Regions from separate parts of the Homo sapiens genome. Here region 2 is linked to region 1. Evidence: promoter capture Hi-C in 16 types of primary human blood cells and fetal thymus (Javierre and others, 2016). All regions are on one chromosome and are shown on one strand. Each heading gives the region's core, a stretch centred on a gene start or on the middle of the fragment in contact. The rest is flanking DNA. Distances are from core to core; before and after follow the strand shown. Region 1 holds the start of MEIKIN (meiotic kinetochore factor). Region 2 overlaps RAPGEF6 (Rap guanine nucleotide exchange factor 6).

The links. The method cuts DNA at HindIII sites, captures the fragments that hold promoters and counts their contacts. A CHiCAGO score of 5 or more calls a contact.
Region 2: a contact is called between a fragment that was not itself captured here and the fragment with the promoter of MEIKIN in region 1, in 1 of 17 cell types (neutrophils). The highest score is 6.0, in neutrophils.

Annotation. Positions count from the first base shown.
Region 1 is chr5:131,942,588-131,947,819 of GRCh38, forward strand. It overlaps MEIKIN (meiotic kinetochore factor), which reads right to left and starts at 3,076. Exons shown (of 13, transcript NM_001303622.2): 1 at 2,813-3,076; 2 at 2,569-2,662; 3 at 2,078-2,165; 4 at 48-108. The coding sequence starts at 2,918. The HindIII fragment of the contact is 14,593 bases long and covers 1-4,529 here.
Region 2 is chr5:131,559,354-131,564,585 of GRCh38, forward strand. RAPGEF6 (Rap guanine nucleotide exchange factor 6) reads right to left here. Exons shown (of 28, transcript NM_016340.6): 5 at 2,625-2,694. Among named protein-coding and RNA genes, the nearest start is that of RAPGEF6, 73 kb to the right of the region's middle. The HindIII fragment of the contact is 3,906 bases long and covers 91-3,996 here.

The DNA.
Region 1 (5,232 bases), core at 1,826-4,325:
TGGAGGAAAAACAGAAAGCTGAGGGAGTTCACATTTGACAGTCTTACCTGATACTAGTTCACTATTTGATGAACTACTATCAACCTGGAGGTCATCAGTAACTGATTCCTAAGTGAAATAAGAATTAAAGCTATAGCAAAATTATGAGATTGACCATTTCTATATTATAATCTTGTACAGATTTATTTTAGAAAAATGAAAACATCAACTTTTTATATGTTTCATATATATAATACATTCATTCAGTTTATTGTTCAGATGTAATCTGATATTTAATATTAAACCTAAAAATAAATATTAAAATATAATACTATGAACATATCTTGTAATCAACAATATGCTAGTCAAGTAACTACTGTGGGATGACAGCAAATAGAAGATAGAGGTGAATATTTTTCTGGTTCCCTAGTGGGGAGGGGCTTTTTTTCCATCTATAGAGGCAAATATATAAATCAAAAGAAAAGACTAGTAAGTCTAAAATACTAGAAATAAAATTAAAGGCAAGTAAACAAATATGGAAATATTGGTTATATATGTATGTACAAAAGTATAGCTATCTTTAATATTTAATAGACATTTCACAAAACAGTACAAATGGCCAATAATTTGAGAAAAAAAATATCGACTTCCCCAGCATTCAAAGAAATGAAAAGTAAAAAACATGCTACTTTTCATCTATCTATCTATCTATTTCATATATATACACACACATATATATAAAAGTTTCAGGTAAGATGGTGCTGATTTATCAACATGAATAAAAAAACTTGAAACATGATCCAACCTGTGATCCACTGCAAAGTATTTATCTTAGGGTAACAATGTGAGGTACACAAAAACCTTCTGTAACAGAATGTCTATGGATATCAATAACAGCAAAACCTTGGAAACAATCTCAATTTCCCAACCACAGGGAAATAGTAATACAAATTACAGTGTATCTATCTACAAGACAAAGCACTATGAAGACACTGAAAGTCATATTTTTGAAGACTATTTAATGTATGGGAATATACAATAAGACAACTGGTCATTTTTTTTAAAGCACAGGAGAAAAGGAACAGAAATATATAAAAATTTTAAGAAACTTTCAAAACACTATTTTTTCATAGTATAAATACTCTACAAGGACTACTTTACACTGTTAAACTATGGATAAAAGCCTTTTAAAAAAATGTCTTGTGTTGAAACTGCCTTCCCCCAAAAACATGTTATAAAGGAATATTAAGTTAAAAAAAAATAGAACTTGGCCAGGTGTGATGGCTCAAGCCTGTAATCTCAGCACTATGGGAGGCCGTGGCGAGCAGATCACTTGAGGTCAGGAGTTCGAGACCAGCCTGGCCAACCTGGAGAAACCCCCTCTATACAAAAATTAGCTGGGTGGTGGTATACACCTGTAATCACATCTACTCAGGAGGTTGGGGCAGGAGAATCGCTTGAACCCGAGAGGCAGAAGCTGCAGTCAGTGAGCCAGGACTGTGCCACTGCACTCCAGCCTGGGTGACAGAGCAAGACTCTGTCTCCAAAAAAAAAAAAAAAAGGAACTTGACTATGAAGTTTAATGTTAATGTCAGATGAGTCACAAGCAATTTTTAAAATCTGAGCTTCCCTAAATTAGTGCTGTACAACTTTAAAATATAGTACAGAATTCATATTAAATACAGCACATCAAGAAGTTATAAAATATTCTAATGAATAAACATTAGAATGCTCTGTAACATATTAAACCCTTAGTAATGAATGTTTCCAGTTGTTAATGGAAAATCAAATGGAAAACATGAAAAAAGGAGTTATTAAGTAACATTTTGTATTTGTCATACAGAAAATTCACCAATTATGGACGTTTCTCCAAAAACGTGTCAAGAGAAAGAGAAAAACAAAAATGCATGACTATGAATCTACCCAAGTCAGAAATTCAAGGCCCTGTCTAAAGACACGTAAGTGTTTATAAAAATACTGGTGAGCTATGTAACATCTACAGAACAAAGCCCATTTTATTCTTTCATCCGGAGGTACATCAGGTACTGATAGTCTCTACACTAAGTGTGTCCAAGGACTAAAAGAGAAGCATACATACACGCAACGATGCAATCTTCTCATCCTGGGTGTCTTCACTAGACCTATTTTCTTGCAGGCTTTTCTCTCCTGTAACTCCTAAGCGAGGGCTAACAAAGAGACAACGCAATTAGTTTGCACCATCTGGATTTGGCTCTCCACGTCTCTGTTCAGACTCTTTAGAATCTGAAAGGCTCTTTAGGGACATCTTTAGGAAGAAGTAAGGACCAGAGTGGTGACTTGCACCAAAACCCAAATGCAGTGACACAATCGTATAGCTCACCGACCAATTTATCTCACTTCCTTTTACGTAAATTGGCAAGCCTTCCCCTTTTTAAAAATAAATCTTCCTGAAGTCAAATTTTGGGGTCCATGTTCTGAGAAGAGCAAAATCAGAGTACTGTATTTGTTTTGCTCCTTGACTGTTAGAATAAAAGGCTACTAGCAGAAAATTCGGCTTGAAGTTTTCTGAGGTGGCAAGCTAGGATCGGGCTGTTACTGGAGGCTACATACCTGAACGGCCCAGAGCCGCTACCTCCCTGCCTGCTCCGCTCTGCTTTCTCTGCAATCTTCGACAAGCCGTGCACTTTGCCTTTTCTCTTCGAACCTGAGAGAGGGCGGCACGTTTCAGGGCAAGAAACCTACCCACCGGCTTCGGGGGGGTCCTGGGCCCGAGGCCTAGCACCCCCGCCCGCCCTCGGTCCCGTCCCGGAGGCAGCTCGGCTGAGCTTACGGTGGGCGAGCCTTGAGCCTGTACCTGGCGGGGCCTCGGCCTTCGCTGGAGAGCCTAGGTCTGGCGTCGGGGTGAGATTGAGCCTCTGACCCTCCCGCTTTTTGCGGGTATAGACCCGTAGCGGCCACATTGCTATCCCACCCTACCCCCAGGCCACGGGTGCCTCTGGACTCTCGATGGCCTGCCTTCCTGAGGATCAGGGCTAAGTCACAGGGAGTCAGCGTCCAGGCGAGGCCCGCGGAGCAGCCTCACAGCAACTAATCGAGCGAAAGCAAAAGCCCCAGAACTGGAGCCGCCGGGCCTCGCTCCCGCGCTTTTATCTCTGTGAGGCCGCGCAGAGGCTTCTGGGAAAACGGAGGAGCGCGGCAGCCGCCCAGCCTTCCTATAGGGGCCCAGTGGTTTCTGGCCTTCTGGCGCAGGTTCCTTCAACTCCAGCGAAACGAGAGTTTTTTGGAAAAAACTTTTTCCTCGTCCAGAAAAAGGTTTAATTCAGCCCCTCCTCCTCCGTCTGAGCACTTAGGTTTCGCCTGTGGCTGCATGCTTAATTCAACTGGGCATGCAGGAGTAAAGGCGTTCCCTCCTTTGGGTGGGCCCAACACTTCCTCTGAGCAAGCTCTCCCTATCAGCACTGCATAAGGCCTTAGTAATGGAGTTTTAGGCCACCAGCACAGGCAGTCTTGTGAGGGGTTGGCCTCAGTGCAGGAAGGTCACAAAGAGGACTGAATGCACCTTAAAGTGACAAGGAGCTTCTCCCTGAGGAATCAACTTCAGTCCCCTGGGCCTGCAACTGACTGGGAAGCTATGGTAATTAAGAGGCTAACCAAGCCTCTGAAGATCCCGGGCTCTAGGAGGCTGCTTCTGGACGACAAACAGTCCCTTAGCCTGTGTCCAGGAGCCATCTCTAGACATCTGGGCATCCTTGTGGTTAAGGTAGAAGATTCCATAGGGGCTCTCCTCCTTGTGCCCTGGGCCTCAACTTGTTGCTGCACCAGACCGATCTGTTTCTTCTTCTTCTTCTTCTTTTCTCCTTTCTTCTTTCTTCTTTCTTCCCCTTCCCCTTCCCCTTCTCCTCTTTTTTTTTTTTTTTTTTTTTTAAGACAGGGTCTGGCTTGTCACCCTGGCTGGAGTGGAGTGGTACAATCATAGCTCACTGCAGCCTCAAACTCTGGGCTCAAGTGATCCTCCCACCTCTGTCTCCCGAGTAGCTAAGACTACAGGCACATGCCACCATGCCCAGCTGATTTGTAAATTTTTTTATAGAGACGGGGTCTTGCTATGTTATCCCAGCTGGTCTTGAACTCTTGGCCTCACGTGATCTTCCTGCCTTGGCCTCCTAAATTCTTGGGACTACAGGTGTGAGCCACCTTGCCCAGCCTTGGTTCAACTTTTATGTAACAAAATTGTGAGTTGTTTTTCAGTTGCCATGAACCCTGAGGTCATGTAACCTGAGCATGCCTAGATGAACCAAGCATGCAGCCACAGGGGAAACCAAGTGCTCAGATCAAGGAGGAGGGACTGAATTAAGAAGTAGATATGGCATGGCAGGATCCAACCGGGTTGAGCTCTGGCTTCATCCCATAGCAGGATCCAGTCAGATCATGCCTCCCAGCATCACCTCATTACAAGATCCAATCAGATCACATCTCTTTACCCTATGCTTATAAAAACCAAACCAAACCCCAGCTTAGGAAGACAGATTTGAGCATTTCCTCCTGTCTCCTTGCCAGCCCACTTGCAATAAAGCTTTTCTTTTCCCAAAAGCCAGTGCCATGGTATTAGCCTCTGCATTCATCAGGCAGTGAGCCCATTGACTGCTCGGTAGCAAACTCTTCTGCTCTGTCAATTAGAGATATGTTGGAATTACCTCCCTTTCTCTCCATACCCTAGGTTGAACCATCTGGCGACATCAGATGAGCATATTATGCACATAACAATAACCATCTTTTTATTCTAAAAAGTGGAAATATTTCATAACATTTAAAATGCAGTTTGAAGAGATAAAACTATGAAAAGCTTAAAGGTTTTTCTGTAACACCTCAGTCTTGTATGTGCGAATATAAGCACATATATATCCACAGTATTTTTGTAATATAATCACTGAATATTTTATTTAAAATCTGCTCACAGAAACATTTATGATAATCAATTTACTAGATAATTAATCATCAAAATCTAGCTTTCTAAAGAACAGATGGTAGGCATTCTTACCTGGTTTTACCTCGGGTTTTGAGTCATTGAATCAATATTTACTGAACACCTTAATCTGTATTAAGCACTGTGGTAGGTCCTGGGGATACAGAAGTGAATCAGAAATGGTCCTTCAGTTAAAGATCTCACAGCCTTGCTGCAGTATAAAGCAATTATCATCTTTCAACATTCTTTCTTTAGTCGTGTCCATAATATGCTGGCAGGCAGTCTCTAGTTTACAAGCCAGGCCTTTATGC
Region 2 (5,232 bases), core at 794-3,293, 380 kb before region 1:
AAATAAAAATCTCCCACTGTGATTGTGGGTTTGTCTAGTTCTGATTTTACTAAGGACAATTTTTGTTTTATGTATTTTGAAGGCATGTAAAGCTTCAGGATTGTGTAACCTTGATACAATTAACCTTTTATCACTATACAGTACCATTCTTACATTAAATAATGCTTCTTGCCTAAAAGTATACTTTGGGCCAGGCATGGTGGCTCACACCTGTAAGTCCAACACTTGGGAGGTTGAGGTGGGAGGATTGTTTGAGGTCAAGAGTTCGAGATCAGCCTGTGAAACATAGCAAGGCTGTCTCTACAAAAACAATAACAACAACAACAACAACAACAAATTAGCTGGGTATGGTGGGGTGCATCTGTAGTCCCAGCTACTTGAGAGACTGAGGAGAGAGGCTCACTTGAGCCCAGGAGTCCAAGGCTGCGCTGAGCTATCGCACCACCGCACACTCTACTCTCGGTAAGCCCCTTTTCTTTAAGAAAAAAAGAAAAAAAAAAAAGAAAAAAAAAAGTTAAAACAAGGAGATTACTTTACAATGTGTCAGATTAAGATGACTAACTTATCAGGTGATCAAGAATGTGTTCAGTAACAGACACTTCCAATCACCAGTGGAGTTAATCAAATCTGTACAAATAGACAAAACCATTTGACCAGGCATTTTTAACAATTCTGAAAAATTTCACCTATTTTGGATTGTTTTCTCCTATAACTCATAAAGCATTTAAAATTATACCAATCATCAATAAATTTAAATTTTTGAAATTTAAAAATTACCAGCCATAAATACATATACTTGATGTGACTTTTTATTTTATATACTTGTTTTTCTGAAATACTGAAGAATAAATTGGAGATATAATGCTTCTTGACCCCAAAATATGTCAACATGTAACTGCTAACAATAAGGACTTTGTCTTACAGAACCACAGTATGGTTATCAAACTCAGGGAATTTGATATTATCCAATCTGTAGTGCATATTTTGAATTCATCAATTGCACCAACAATGTCATTTATAGCTATGCCTATGATTTCTCCTTTTCTTCCTCCTCATATGAAAATATTACATAAAGTATGTAAAACAAGCACTAAAACAGAATGTATAACACTGAAGTAAAAGCAGTATTTCTTTTGCATATAGTATGAGAAATACAAAATACAACTAAAAAGTCAGAAAATCAATACTGCCTGGGCAGTTTTCTTGCCATGTTCCTCAATACATACATTAAAAAGAAAGAATTCTGAGGCTCTAATAGGAATCCCATATATTCAGTGCTTAAAGAAAATAAATTTGAAACAATACATACTCCATCCTTGAAAAAACTTGAATTCAAGAAACATTCACTGAATACTTACTATGCAGGCAGTACTCTGCGATACTCTCGGAGACACAAGTGGAATAAGACATAATCTTTGCCCTGTAAGAGCTTAAAATCCAGTTGCTCACATAAAATTAGGGATAGTGAGTTCATGGTTATACAGATGATCCAGTTTAAGAAAGAGAAAACAAACTATTTGAAGGTATCAATCTGACTATAGCACCATGAAATGGAAAAGTAGTTTGGTTTTGAGCCCTTACATTAAAATGCTTCATTAAGAATTCAATTTCTCTTCTTGACAGTTCAAATCTAATCAGATGACATGGTCATCTACATGAGATCCTAGTAGGACAATGAGTCCACTCGGTATATGCTGTTTTCTAGTCAGGTCATCTTAGAACAACGTAAAAAGCAAGCTGTGTTCTTGATTCTTCTAATACTTAAAAAAAAAAATTCTAAAGTTACATCAACTACTTAGCTCTTTTAAGAAAAAATAAAGAATTATTCCTTAAATACACTCTTAAATAAAAACTTATCTTAAATAATTAAAAAGTGAAAATACTAACACCATTTCTTACTTGGATCTAATTGTATGTCTTTTTACTTTTCTCTACTTCATTCTCTCTAGTCTAGGGCACAGACTATAGAATTCAAAGTTTATTGAAAAAGTAAAATTGAATGGGAAAGAAGAAATCACCTGAGGCTGGGCGCAGTGACCCACGCCTGTAATCTCAGCACTTTGGGAGGCCAAGGCAGATGGATCACCTGAGGTCAGGAGTTCGAGACCAGCCTGGCCAACATGGTGAAACCCCCATGGCTGCTAAAAAATAGAAAAACTAGCTGGGAATGGTGCCAGGTGCCTGTAATCCCAGCTACTCAGGAGGCTAGGGCAGGAAAACTGCTTAAACCTAGGAGGCGGAGGTTGCAGTGAGCCAAGACTGCACCATTGCACTCCAGCCTGGGCACCAAGAATGAAACTCTGTCTCAAAAAAAAAAAAAAAAAAAAAAATCACTTGAAAACTCATGGTCCCCTTTTAAAACTTCTAATTTTCTGGTAGAAGGGGGTAAAAAATACCAAATCTGCAAATTATATGTAAGTGTATCATGTTTCACACTCTCTTGAGGATCAAAAAAAGTCTGAAGAGACAGAAATAGATAAACCTGGTAGATAGTTCTGATGCTACTTGATGAAATCTCTAAAAGGTCATAGTAATAAAACCTCCTTAAGTGTTTAAAGCCTACTACATTTAAAGTTAAAACTGAAGCATATCAAAAACAATTCAGCATTCTTTAAAGTTCTTACCACAATCATTTCTGAAGGCTCTAATACAAGACAATCACATCCTCTTTTTCCTCCAAACTGCTTACCAAAACTATAAAAACAGAAAAACAATTTCTTTAGCAAAGGTTATTAATAAAATATATCAATATAGGAAAAGAAAACAAACAAACAACAAAAAAGCCCTGAGATATTATCCAAGAAATTCTGATCCTGTCACAATATTTATGTTAAGATTTTCTAAAAAAGAAAGAAAAAAAAAAACCTTTCTCTTAATTGTCCAGATATAACTGATCTCAATACTATATGAAAATTCTTTTTAAACTTCTGCCTTTAACTAGTCCCTAAAATTAATTATAAAAGATAACTGTCTAATCTCAAATTTCTAACATCTGTCAATATACGTTGCACAAAGAAAAAAATACACTTAGTAAAAATCTAATAAAAGTGATAACCTGATTAGGCAATTTAATAAAAGTAAATTATTATAATCTTTTGGGAGCAGTGTTAAGACAACAGATACTAAAAATAAAAAAACTTAAAAAATATTCACACTTGAGTAGTCTCTTGGTATCCAACTGGGATTGGTTCCAGAATCCCCAAGGATACAAAAATCTACCAGTGCTCAAGCGCCTAACATAAAATGATGTAGCATTTGCATATAACCTATGTGCATCCTTCCATATGCTTTAAATCAACTTGAGATTTTTAATAATACCTAATACACGGGAAATGCTACATAAATAGTTGTTATGCTTTATTGCTTAGGGAATAATGACAAGTAAAACAAGTCTATATATGCTTAGTAGAGATGCAACCATCCATTTTTTTTTCCAGGATCAGCAGTTGCTTGAATTAATGGATGTGAAACCCACGGATATGAAGTGCCAACTATATATAAAGAAATGTAGTTAGATATAAAGATGACTTCTTAAAAGAAAGTGTTGGAGTCACAGCTCTTTGGAAAAAACTAAAGCTGGACCAGTACTAAAAGACAGTATTTTTATATTCTTGGTCTCAGAAAGATTTCTCAGCATATCAAAAAGAAAGCAACCACAGAGAAAAAGATAGGTTTCCATTTTAAAAGATAACCTGAATTTTTTTTAATGAAGAATAAAAAAAAGCCCTGTCAACTATACTAAGACACAAATGACTTACATATGAAATATACAGAGCTCACTCAAAATAATGATAAAGCAACCAAAAGTATTATCATATATGAAAATTTAGTGCCAGTGTCAGTTAGTAAATAAAACATATAAATATTACTCCAAAATAACCAAATGGAAAAAAAACATTAATCATTCAAACAAAACAAAATACCAAAAAACATCTAATAAATAAATAAGTCATTTATAAAGAAAATTATACAACTTCATTGATGGGCTAGAAACAAAGCTTAAAGTAACATAGCTATACTTTTATGGGAAGGTTAAATATTTAAAAATGTCAATTTCCCAAAGTATAAGGTTCTATACAAATAACAGTTAATAACAAAATTCTAATCAAAATCCAAACAAAATAACTTTTGAACATAACCAAAAAATCACTTATGTTTTTTCTTCGAGACAGCATCTCACTCTGTGATCACCCAGGCTGCAGTGCAGTGGTGCAATCACGGCTCACTGTAGCCTCGACATCCCTGGGCTCAGGTGATCTTCCCATATCAGTCCCAAGTAGCTGGGACTACAGGCATGCACTACCATGCCTGGCGAATTTTTTAAATTTTTTGTAGAGACAGGGGTTTTGTCATTTTCACTATGCTGGTCTTGAACTCCTGGGCTCAAGCAATCCACCCACCTTGGCCTCCCAAAGTGCTAGGATTACAGGCGTGAGCCACTGCACCAGGCCTCACTTGTTTTTTCTTAAGCAGAAGATCCTTATCTTTTGTTTCCCCCAAATTCTTGTATCACCTAATACATTTAAAAAAGCAAATCTGTAAAAGTTTGCTTTCATGCAAGATGGAATAACAGGGACTGGGTTTACTCTCCCACCTGAGGACAAAAACAGAAAACAAAACAAAATATATAAAACAACAATTTCAAGACACCAAAAAGAAGGCAGGGCAGGGCTGTAATTCCTGAGGGAGGAAACAAAAAACTAAGATGACTCTTGCAATACACCATTTTACCACCTACAGGCAAGAGAAGCGTAACACAGCCTGACAATTTCGCTGAGTTGAAAAGCTAATAAGCGTTTTGGGGTGTGGATGACAGGGGAAAGATACTTAGAATTTGCAAGGCAGTGTTCCTGAAAAGAGGGAGAGCAGCAAAGAGATACGGGGAGAGAGAGAACAACATTGTGCACAAGAGTATGCATGAGCATTTGTGTGCATATATGCTTTGAAGAAAGGTCCTCTTGAGTCTTTGAGTGAGTACTGTGGATATGTGAGAACAAAGAGTCACAGAGGAAAGACGACATAATACATGGGGTACTAGGTAGGGTCCTCAGGAATGTATTTCCTCAGTAACAAAATAAATTAGTCCCACACTAAAGTGCTGAACTTGCGCAAATACATTTAAAAGATAAAGCTCAGAATAATCAAATAGATTCCAATTAGCTAGACTATACGTTAGAACAAAACCCAATACCACCTAAAGAGATGCAAAAGCTGGAACCCAGTGACATAAAA